Regions from separate parts of the Homo sapiens genome. Here regions 1, 2 and 3 are each linked to region 4. Evidence: promoter capture Hi-C in 16 types of primary human blood cells and fetal thymus (Javierre and others, 2016). All regions are on one chromosome and are shown on one strand. Each heading gives the region's core, a stretch centred on a gene start or on the middle of the fragment in contact. The rest is flanking DNA. Distances are from core to core; before and after follow the strand shown. Region 1 has its middle 33 kb from the start of ATP2A2. Region 2 has its middle 57 kb from the start of ATP2A2. Region 3 overlaps IFT81 (intraflagellar transport 81). Region 4 holds the start of IFT81 (intraflagellar transport 81).

Region 1 (2,743 bases), core at 13-2,512, 120 kb before region 4:
GCTTCCTGGACTGTATTCAGAGAGCTGTGGCTTTTCTCTACCACTTGCAACAGCTCTTGGTGTCTTTATGTGAGCTGCTTATTAACCAGAGGATATCAGGACACTGGGAGGGCAGAGCTTGTGCTGGTTGCCAGTGAGAGTAATTCAGAAACACAGAGTGGGGCAGAGCTGATGTGTGCAGCCGATGTGACGGACAGAGGTGCCTGGCGGGGTGGAACAGGCTCTGGGCACCGTGCAGGAGCAGCATACTGGAGGGGCCTGTGGCCTATGGGGATGGCCAGGAAAGGCAGGGTCCCCTACCAACACTGCAGGCCACCCCCAGGACGAAGGCATGGCGAAGGGCACTGATGGCAACTGGAGGCCACCTGTTGGAATGGGACATGGCACTGGACCGACACTCCCTTCTCACAGTCACACATGGAGGGAGCCGTTTCCACCTTATGGAAACTCCTCTATCATCCTCCTTTTCCAAAGAGACTGCTTTTCCAGAAAAGGCCCTGAGTAAAAGATTCAAATCCCAGACATCCTCTTCCCTCTCTTCCATAAGCTGCTGATGATAGTCCCCGTCTACAGAGTCAGTGTTGATGGGCTTCACCTGCCAGCTGACCCCTCAGGGTCAAACCAAGGAAGCAGAACACCCATGGGCCCTGAGATGGTTCCTGACACCAGGCCACAGAGCAGCTTCCTGCTGTGTCTAAAGAAACACGGATTAGCCATGCTTTGGCCGGGCTGCAGTGCTATGTGTCTTAGGTTTCAAGCTGGTACCAGCTGCACTGAGGGGAAATGGTTGGGGAAGTTCTCCCGTTTGGCTTCTTTCCACATGGAGGACGGCAAAAGGAAGAGGGAGCTTAGAGCTGCCATGCTGGTACTGATGCCTTAAAAATGATGATATAAACACAGCCACAGGAGTCAGCCTGTGAGTCCCTGATGGGGACCAGAGGAGAAATGTCCTGACTTACCCTTCAGCCCACACTCTGCAAACAGAAGTGACCCAGCCCTCATCTATCACCTCAAAAGCTAAACAACTTCCTCAGACAGCCCCATGGAATATAAATCAGGAGGGCCCTAGCTTCTAAGAAACCAGTACACAACTACAGCCCTCAGAAATACTCATCCTCATCTTCTTTCTTCCTCTCCTTTCAGAATAGGGTGCTAGCAAGTCTTATCTGCAGATGAGGCCAGGCAAGGTGGCTCATGTTTGTAGTCCCAGCACTTTGGGAGGCTGAGGTGGGTGGATCACTTGAGGCCAGGAGTTTGAGACCAGCCTGGTCAACATGGTGAAACCCTGTCTCCACTAAAACTACAAAAATTAGCCAGGCATGGTGGTGCACGCCTGTAATCGCAGCTACTCAGGAGGCTGAGCAAGGAGAATCGCTTGAACCTGGGAGGTGGAGTTTGTAGCGAGCTGAGATTGTGCCACTGCCCTCCAGCCTGGGCAACAGAGTGAGATTCCATCTCAAATGAATAAACAAACAAACAAACAAAATAACTGCAGATGAAGTAGGAGGTCACCTTAAGCATGTTACTCAAATTCTCTGAGCATGGGTCCTCATCTGTATCTATCTCATGGGTTTGAGGTGGGAGGTAAATGAGATCATTCATTCAGTTCTTAGTATAGTACTACCTTGATAAATATCATCATTTCAGCAGCTGAAGGCCATTCTCAGGTATAAAGAAGGAAAAACAACACTTCTATACTAATCCCAAACAAGAAGGCTATATGGGCCAGGGCTTCAGTGATTCATGATGTCCAAGCCTTCTTGCTCCTGCTCTCTCTCACGCCAAGTCTGTGCCAGACCTGGTTGCACTTGGCAACCTCAGCGCCTCCAACTTGTTTGAATTCTCACAGAGAATCCCAATGGGTACTCCGACCTGCTGGCGCAGAGACAAATTCAAACACACTGGGGTGGCAGTGAAATGTAGTATAAGAAATAGTCACAAGGAATGTTCAAGCTCTCAGAATGCCTGCAGAGCTGGGGTTTACACAGAGGGCCCCACTTTTCCAGACAGGCAGGGTAGCGAGCTTACAAATTATTTCCTTTCATGCATACTTTCACGATAGCATCATAACACATGCAATAAACACGTTTGGCTCCCTACTGAACAGGTACAGACACGACAGCTTTTCTGTTTTAAAGCTCCTGAATGCCAAAGCCTTCTCCGCTGCTCTGATGCCCCAAACTTCCCTGCCTGGGAATTGGATCTGGGGTAATGAGTGACCCAGCAGGCAGAGATGACAGATTCCTGCCTAATGTAGCAATGCTGGGACAACCTGGAGTATCTGGTGTGGCGGGCAGGCACAGGCAGGATGGGAGAGGCAGCCGTGAGTACACCAACCTTTGTCCCTGTTTGCTCTGGGAGAGGGCAGGCCCTGCCAATGCTGCTCTCCTCTCCTGGTGCCTCTGCCTGGGGCTCTTGGCTAGTCAAACCTCCCCGGGGACCTGAGACGACCTGACCCTGGTGGGTGGCAAGCCGAGACCTCTTCAGGCAGTCAAAGGGTGCTCTGGCACCTCTGACATGACACAGCAGGTGTGGGGCTTGGAGGCCTGCGTGCTCCTGCCCCCTGAGGAAGCCTCTTTCCTTCTGGCTCCTTCCCAGCTGAAAGCTTATCATTAACTAGCCGCCCAGAAAATGATGACCTACTCCAGGGCACTCCTTGGTTCAATCCACTACAGGGTCCGAGGGAAACACAGAATGACAGTGCAGAGCCTGAGCTGGGCAGTGTTGCGTGCCTTCCTCTTGC
Region 2 (2,799 bases), core at 168-2,667, 100 kb before region 4:
GGGATTATAGGCACCTGCCACCACGCCCAGCTAATTTTTGTGTTTTTAGTAGAGATGGGGTTTCACTGGGTTGGTCAGGCTGGTCTGGAACTTCTGACCTCATGATCCGCCCACCTCAGCCTCCCAAAGTGCTGAGATTACAAGCGTGAGCCACCGTGCCTGGCCACCCAGCTGTATTTCAATCTTTAAGTTTCATTCCAGCATTGTTCATAAAGTGAAAAACTGGAGTTGATCTAAATGTCCAGCAATTGGAGACATGCATGATTTTAACACACAGATAGATTTAAATGATAACCCTATAAAGTTTCAGTTTGCTCTGTATTTAAAACTACTACTCATTTCTTTCATTCATTTACTGAACATTTATTTTCAGTATAATTCCCTCATCTGGTTGGTTGAGGTTACTTTTAACCATTTAGTAAAGTTTATTCTTTAGGTATAGTAAGCAAACACATTTTTTAAAAAAAGGTACTATAATTTTATAATAAGCACTAAAAATTATTTCATACCATAACTCATAAACAGACATCAATCTGTTTGCTTATATACAATAGGTATATACATGGGTCACACTGCAATATAAGTACTTAAGAGCACAGGTTTTGGATCCTGGCTCTGCCACAATCATTAGTTGTATAATATTGTGAAAGTCTCTCTGTGCTTCAGTTCCCTTATCTATAAAATGCGGATAATTGCAGCTGCCTCATAAGGTTATTGTGAGAGTTATGTTAGTTCTACACATATAAAGCATTTAGGACAGTGCCTGGTACAAATGGAGTGCTCAGTACCAGGTTATTTGCTTGAATCACTCATGATCATGGTCGTGATTAGAGCTTCAGGGAATAAAATTTGTTAAATCTTGCTTTGCATAACTGAAGTTCATAAAAAGTCCTTTGTAAGTCTGCTTCAGTTTCAGAACCAATAACTTAATTAGGTTGTGCTCTAACAATGAAACAGGCTCCCTCATGAGGAGTGAGCCGCATTGCGGGTACACTACTATGGCTGGAAAGTGATTCGCTACATGCGCTACAGAACTGATTTCCACACTGGAGAGAGGTTGGAAGAGATCCCTCAAAGCTCCTGATCTAATAAATGATTATATGAATCATTCTGAGGTTCCTTTCAAGCTCCAAAATTCTATGACTGTTTACCAGGATATCGCATGCAGCATTAAGCAGCCAAGCCAGGAACCTGCTGTTACACTCTGAACTGAGGTGTAAACACATACTTTCACCGAAAAACAAAAATCTTTAATTTCTTCCTGTGCTCGGAATAGTGAATTTCCATAGCAGTAAACCAAGTTTGGTGACTCAAGCCTCTCAGCAATTCTGGAAAGGAAATTGTGAAAATATCGATGTTTGCCAAGAAAGTACTTCCAGTTTGCCAAAAGAGGGAGCATAGGAGCAGAAAGCATATGTTTGTCCAAGTCTCTTAAAAATACTTATTTGGGATCTGTGTTTTATTTTTTGATTTCTTTTGCAAGGATGGGGTGGGGCTAAACAATATTTACAGTCAACTTCTCTTTTTAAGATTATCTTAAGACAGTAGGGTCAAAGATAAAAAATACATAGATAACTTTTAATGATCCCTCTCCATCCCCCGAGACAAAACACTCATCCCAGGCCTGGCTGCCATACGCCAAGCAGCTCTAATTTAAACTGCTCTCATTAAAAGGAAGAGGAAGAGGAGCTAAGCCAGTATGAGTGGAGGAATAATTTACATATTTAATAAAGATACAGCTTTATTTCTCTCCTGGCTGCCATGAATTGTCTAAAAAAGAAAGATCTGTTGCATATGTAATCTACTCCTCACCTGTAGGTGAGTAACAATCAGTAACAATGACGTTACTGATAAAACCAAGTTTAAAGAAAGTTAATCATCAGGATGCTATCTTACCCGTTCCCTGGGGCTAAAGACTCCTTCATGCCAGACAAGATGAATGATGTAAGCACCTAGAATCCTTTGTAGAAACAAGTCATTTACTCACACTCATTAGTCACTAATATAGGGTAGAATGCCTGCATAAGACAAGGCTTCTATAAGACACACACCTGCATACAAAGTCATTTTTCTTTTTCTTTTTTCTTTTTTTTTTTTGAGATGGAGTTTCGCTCTTGTTGCCCAGGCTGGAGTGCAATGGAGCAATCTGGCTCGCTGCAACCTCCACCTCCCAGGTTCAAGTGATTCTCCTGCCTCAGCCTCCCGAGTAGCTGGGATTACAGGCATACACCACCACGCCTGGCTAATTTTGTATTTTTAGCAGAGATGGGATTTCTCCTTGTTGGTCAGGCTGGTCACGAACTCTTGACCTCAGGCGATCTGCCTGCCTTGGCCTCCCAAAGTGCTGAGATTACAAGCGTGAGCCACTGTGCCCAGCTACAAAGTCATTTTTCAATGCAAACTTTGACTTTGCCTTTGTAGAGACAGCTTTGACAAGTTATCAGTTTGCCATTTTTCATATTCAACTCAGAAGAATTCTGCAAATTTGTATATTTTTAGTTTCAGCAATATATTTAGTCTTTTATTTTACTCAAATTATAAAAAGTGCTCTGTATTGTGTTACCTTAAAAAGTTAAGAAACATACTTGGGGCCGGGCGCGGTGGCTTATGCCTGTAATCTCAGCACTTTGGGAGGCCGAGGCGGGTGAATCACCTGAGGTCTGGAGTTCAAGACCAGCTGACCAATATGGTGAAACCCCATCTCTACTAAAAATACAAAAAGTTAGCTGGCCGTGGTAGCACATGCCGGTAATCCCAGCTACTTGGGAGGCTGAGGTAGGAGAATTGCTTGAACGCGGG
Region 3 (3,077 bases), core at 103-2,602, 84 kb before region 4:
GTATTTTTCATAGAGACGGGGTTTCACCATTTTGGCCAGGCTGGTCTTGAGTTCCTGACCTCAACTGATCCACTGGCCTTGGCCTTCCAAAGTGCTGGGATTACAGGCGTGAGCCACCGCGCCCAGCCTGAGGATAATCTGAAAACTGTAACGCAGAACATTATCATGAACTCTCTGTGATTTAAAAATAGATAATTTTTTCTTTCAAAAATCCATCGTGACTTTATTTCTGTAAAACTAAATTCTTAAGGAAGTCTTCCATCTTTAAAATGAATGAACAATTTCCCCTCAAAAACTGTACTATGACCTTTTGAAAACAATGACAGTCATAAACCATGTACAGTACTGAAAGCCTGAATCAGTTAGACACATTTAAAAAAATAAATAATAATTCTTACCTTTCCAAGGTTTTCTTGTTCAGCAGTATTTTTGGTATACTGTTCCCTAGGGAGTCAACATAATGATTTACTTTCAATTTACTTCAAATGATTTGATCATACAAGTGAATTATAAATTAATATATCTATCTAAAATACACTAGGCAATATAGTTTAGGGTACTGGAGTCAGAATGAAACCCATTATAAAATTCTTTGTCTTTCCCCATCTTTAGTTAGTTCTTCAAGTAAATAGTAATTTAAGGAAAAAAAAGAAAGCAAAACATTTAATAGGAAATTAAGATAATTAAAATGTTAAATACTATTTCTGGTTAATCTACCCTCAAAACAATGGCAACCCATCTGCTTAAATTACACATTGTTTTTGAAGAGGTTTGTAGAAAGGAGAAAGGATATACATTTTAAATAAACATTAAGTAGCATGTAATCTTGCAATTCTACTTCTAGGAAGTCATCCTACAAAAATATCCCATAACTTAAATAAACATAAAAGCAGACTATTTATTTCATCAATGCTTATAATAGTGAAAATATGCAAACAAACTAAATGTCTATAGATGGGAAAATGTTTAAGCAAATTATGGCATATCTATTGAAACAAATAATAAGGAGTTATACAAAAGAATGAGGTAAATCTATAAATACTGAAGTGGAAAATATTCTAGATCAAGAGAAAAACAGCATATGTAGTTTAATCTTTTTTTTTTCCTTTGAGACAAGGTCTCACTCTGTTGCCCAGGTTGGAGTGCAGTGGCATGATCACACCTCATTGTAGCCTCCACCTCCCTGGCCCAAGTGAATCTCCCACTTTAGCCTCCCAGATACTGGGATTACAGACATGTGTCGCCATATTGGGCTAATTTTTTTGTATTTTTTTGGTAGACACAGGGTTTTGCCATGTTGCCCAGGCTGGTCTTGAACTCTGGGGCTCAAGCAATTGGCTCATCTCAGCTTCCCAAATGCTAGGATTACAGGTGTGAGCCACTACACCCAGGAGCAGTTTAATCTTATTTTTATATACATATGTATGTATACGTGTGTGTATACACACATACATATAACATTTCCCATGCATTAACTAACACACATATATACAGATGTATCAGCAAACGCATGGGAAAAGAATATGGCTTAATGTACACCAAAGTATTAACAGTAGACATTTCTGAGACATGGCAATAATGGACAGCATTCAACTTCTGTGCACACTACTTCATAATGGTTACTGTTGTTTTTACAAGTATTTCTTTTGTAAGCTAAAAAAAAAATTTTAATGTAAAAATTAAAAACATAATAACATTGTATTTTATTTGTAAACAAAATTATATTTCAATACTATTTAAGACAAAATGTGAGATTTAAAGCAGGTGACATGTTAAGGATAAAGACTGAAGGCTGGGGCTGGGCGCGGTGGCTCACGAGGTCAGGAGATCGAGACCATCCTGGCTAACACGGTGAAACCCTGTCTCTACTAAAAATTCAAAAAATTTAGCCAGGCGTGGTGGCGGGCACCTGTAGTCCCAGCTACTCAGGAGGCTGAGGCAGGAGAATGGCGTGAACCCAGGAGGCGGAGGTTGCAGTGAGCTGAGATCACGCCACTGCACTCCAGCCTGGGCAACAGAGTGAGACTCCGTCTCAAAAAAAAAAAAAAAAAAAAAAAAGACTGAAGGACGAGGGGTAAAGGAACACAGAACAAAGAAGAGACTGTTTTTGTGTGTGAAGCTACGCTGCAGTATTTAAGAAAAAATTAAACAATATAAAATTGGGACTCCAAGAAATCCTAAGCCATAAAAAGAGAAAATACAGCAGTCTAAGTAAAGGAAAATTTTGCAATTAGTCTTGATGAATCCTCATTTTCAGTAGGGCGTGGTGGCTCATGCCTGTAATCCCAGCACTCTGGGAGGCTGAGGAGGGTGGTTCACTTGAGGTCAGGAGTTTGAGACCAACCTGGCTAACATGGTGAAACCCCATTTCTACAAAAATACAAAAATATAAACTACAAAAATACAAATAACAAAAATTAGCCAAACACAGTGGCGTGTGCCTGTAATCCCAGCTACTTGGGAGGCTGAGGCAGGAGAATATGTTTGAACCTGGGAGGCGGAGATTGCAGTGAGCCGAGATCGTGCCACTGCACTCCAGCCTGGGTGACAGAGCAAGACTCCGTCTCAAAAAAAAAAAAATCTGGCTAGAAGACAGATCAGAAAATGAATAGTTCAAGAGCAATTATTTCCTTCTTTGCTATTTATATCGATAACTTTGGAAGAAATAGAACTTAATTTATAAAAATTTTTATTTTTTAAGAACAAATTTAACTTTTCTCATTTCTTATCATTGGCCATATAGATTTATATGAACAAAGTTTACATACAATGAAAGAATATGAATAAGTACATTTTTAGTTTAATATGTTAGAGTATTAGAAAAAACACTGCTCTATACAGTATTTTCAGTCTGGCTTGCATTCTAGTGCATTACATTGAAAAAAAATTCAGATTCTGCAAGACACTCTATTTCTTAGATTTTTTTTTTTTTTTTTTTTAAAGACAGAGTCTCCCTTTGTCGCTCAGGCTGGAACGCAGTGGCATGATTTCGGCTTACTGCAGCCCCTGCTCCCCGGGTTCAAGCGATTCCCACGCCTCGGCCTCCTAAGTAGCTGGGACTACGGGCGCCCACCACC
Region 4 (3,008 bases), core at 399-2,898:
GCCTGGCCGATCTTGTGCTAGTTCTTTAGGTACGCATCTTCTCTTCCCTGCTAAACTGTAAATTCCGTATCTGTGTCCAATTCCATTTTTGAACATCCATTGTGTCTAAAACAGTGATTCCTTCCACTAGATTGAATGAACTTGTTCACAGGCACAAGTACAACATAAGCCTAAATCTAAAGGAAATCAGGCTGGCAGTGAGAAAGATCATAACTTTTTAAAAAACTGAATATCTGATTTATTAACTGCTGAAACAGCTTTACCTAGGTAAATGCTTTAAGGATTAAAAATGAATTAAGCAATGAGTTGCTGCCGGGAGCTGTCGTTCTCTCCTGTAATCCCAGTACTTTGGGAGGCCGAGGCAGGCAGATCACTTGAGGTCAGGAGTTCGAGGCCAGCCTGGCCAACATGGTGAAACCCGGTCTCTACTAAAAATACAAAAATTAGCCAGGTGTGGTGGCGGGCGCCGGTAGTCCCAGCTACTTGGGAGGCTGAGGCAGGAGAATTGCTTGAACCCGGGAGGCGGAGGTTGCAGTGAGCCGAGATCGCGCCACTGCACTCCAGCCTGGGGGACAGAGAGAGACTCCGTCTCAACAGAAAAAATAAAATAAAAAAGATAATTTCTCCACAATGATGAAAAATTACGCACAAATAATTATTATTGCTAAGAAATAAGTCAAAAGAGGATAGGAAGGATAACCACCATGGCTTATAATAAATCTGAGGTTTCCTTTAAGCTATAAAAGGAAAACCTTTACGTAAGTTTTTTTTTAAAATCCATATTGGAAGTGCAAGTTTTCCATTGTTTAAAGTATTTTAAGTAAAAGTCCACGTCATAACCTTTGCGTGCAGAAATATGTATTTCATTTTAAATGATTTAGAAATTATCTATAGGTCTACTCTTTTTTCCCTTAAAAAAAAATCTGGATAAACTAGTACAACGTTTCCAGGAAGGCAAAATAAACCAGTTGGGTTCCCCCCAAGTCGCCCACCAGCCTGCAAAAATGGTCACTCGATAAGGACAAAGATGTACTGAACAGGAAGGCTGTCTGTGCCCAGCGGGCTCTGCGCTCTAAAATTAGCAAAAGCAATTACTGTCCCTCTTCTAGCGCGAAGTCGCCGCGCTAATTCCCAAGCACTCACCCACAAACGAGTCGCAGGAGGCGGGGAACAATGAAAACCAGGACGTGCGTGTTCTCTGGCACAATTTGGGAGAGAAACCGTGCTGCCTGGGTCCCAGGCTGGCACGAGCATCGACCCGCAGCCTCCTGGGAGTACCAGAAATAGTGTCCCCCTCCCCGGGCTCGGGACAGGGGACAGGGGACCCCACACCCGACCGGGCCTCTAGCGGGGGCTGCCCTGGGCCCCTCGACAGTTCATCCCTCCAGGGAGCGGCCTGGATCCGCTCGAATCCCAGAAGGGGCCCGATTCCCCTATCCGGGGGCTTAACCGCGACGACCCCTTCCACTTGCGAGGTGCTGCATCAGGACCGAGAGAGGACGGGAGCTCTCTCCTATTTCGGGGTTCAGAGGAGCTTCCGACCGCGAGTTGGCGAGGTTACCTCAAATTCTCCTCACGAAACCGTTTCCCCACCCCCCAGGAGGCGCCCGGGCTCTAGACCGCTCCCAGAGTCGAGCTCCTTGGCAACGGTTGCTAGGCCGTAGAGTTACGTCACTTCCGGGCGAGCGGCCGCTCTCCCGCGCGCGCGCGCACGAGCTGGGGGGCGGGGCCGGGCCAGGGCGGGGAGGACGGGCGCGGGGCGGAGCGGACGGGGCGGGGCGGGGCGGAGCGGACGGGACGGGGCGGGACGGGGCGGGGCGGACGGGGCGGACGGGAGCCGGGCTTACTTGCAAAGCGGGCCCACGTGCTGAGCCACTGCAGACAGCCGAGGGCATTTGGGACTGTTACTCCGACCTAGACGCGCTACAATAAGCTTCCCGAAAGTCCTGCACTTCGCAGTTTACAAAATACTCTCTGCATGATTAACCTATGTTAAATGCGTGTGATGTTTCATTCATTCATTCATTCATGCATGCATGCATGCATTCATGCGCCAAACGTGGGTGATGATTTTTGTTTGTTTTTGAGGCAGGGCTGGGTGGTAGGGGGGTTGGGATGAGCAAGCATTTGGCCAGTGCTTCAAATTTAGGTTTTTGACATAAGTATCTCCAAATTAGGTTATGCATAGGAACAATTGTAGTGAGGCTCTGGCAGGATTAAAAGAAGACACATTCATCATAGAGATTTCAGCTTCTGTGTCACATTACTGGGCCACATTGCCTGTACTGGGAATTAAATTTTTTTAAACCCAATACGTTTTGAGTATGCTGAGAGCCTGAAAGGGGGTGTGGGAGAACTAAGTGTCCTAATGTTCCTTTGGCTTCTGAGTGGGCTCTCTTTAGGTGACTGCAGAAATAAATTAAATCCTCCTTGTGGTCTTCATGGAGTTCACATCCCACGCAGGACGCAGGGAGATCTTTGTGCCCAGTCACTGATGAGGTTTAAAAGTCTACTGGAATTTGCACTAGCTGGTTTGTGGGAGACCTTAGTTGGCAAATGGTATTTTGAACCAACCTCTATTAGACTAGAGACCACGATACTTAGTGATATCAGCTGGCAATGAAAGAAAGAGAAGGAAAAAAAATCAAATTATTGATACCTTGAAAACTTAGTTGCCTGCTCAAACAGCATAGGAGAAACCAACTATAGCTTTAGCATCAGACTTACCACAACAAAAAATAACAGATTACGTATTAGGCATTTCCTATATGCCCTGTACTGTACAGGCTGCTGGAAATGCAGAAGGGCAGGACTTACCTGGCCCCTGCCCTGATGGAGCTGACAGTCTAGTGCCGGCAGAGATTATTAAAGGGGCAACACCAATACAATTGAGATAAATGCTGTAACAAGAGAAGCCAATGATTAGGAGCCCAGATTAAGGGCCTCAAGTTTATTTGGGGAGGGTGGTGCCAAAGGGGCCATACCATCAGGAAAGTTTCTGTCAAATG

Evidence for each region. Contacts are between HindIII fragments. The CHiCAGO score rates a contact against its expected background, and 5 or more counts as called.
Region 1: a contact is called between a fragment that was not itself captured here and the fragment with the promoter of IFT81 in region 4, in 3 of 17 cell types (endothelial precursors, M0 macrophages and megakaryocytes). The highest score is 9.4, in endothelial precursors.
Region 2: a fragment that was not itself captured here is called in contact with the fragment with the promoter of IFT81 in region 4 in 2 of 17 cell types (M2 macrophages and endothelial precursors); the score reaches 6.7 in M2 macrophages.
Region 3: a fragment that was not itself captured here is called in contact with the fragment with the promoter of IFT81 in region 4 in 1 of 17 cell types (M2 macrophages); the score reaches 5.7 in M2 macrophages.

What each region holds. Positions count from the first base shown.
Region 1 is chr12:110,247,365-110,250,107 of GRCh38, reverse strand. No RefSeq gene overlaps it. Among named protein-coding and RNA genes, the nearest start is that of ATP2A2, 33 kb to the left of the region's middle. The HindIII fragment of the contact is 2,690 bases long and covers 1-2,607 here.
Region 2 is chr12:110,223,054-110,225,852 of GRCh38, reverse strand. No RefSeq gene overlaps it. Among named protein-coding and RNA genes, the nearest start is that of ATP2A2, 57 kb to the left of the region's middle. RefSeq lists an enhancer at 1,607-2,107. The HindIII fragment of the contact is 7,275 bases long and covers 1-2,799 here.
Region 3 is chr12:110,206,538-110,209,614 of GRCh38, reverse strand. It overlaps IFT81 (intraflagellar transport 81), which reads right to left. Exons shown (of 19, transcript NM_014055.4): 18 at 399-444. Among named protein-coding and RNA genes, the nearest start is that of ATP2A2, 73 kb to the left of the region's middle. The HindIII fragment of the contact is 7,375 bases long and covers 1-3,077 here.
Region 4 is chr12:110,122,997-110,126,004 of GRCh38, reverse strand. IFT81 (intraflagellar transport 81) reads right to left here and starts at 1,648. Exons shown (of 19, transcript NM_014055.4): 1 at 1,144-1,648. RefSeq lists a silencer at 1,565-1,834. The HindIII fragment of the contact is 3,777 bases long and covers 1-1,935 here.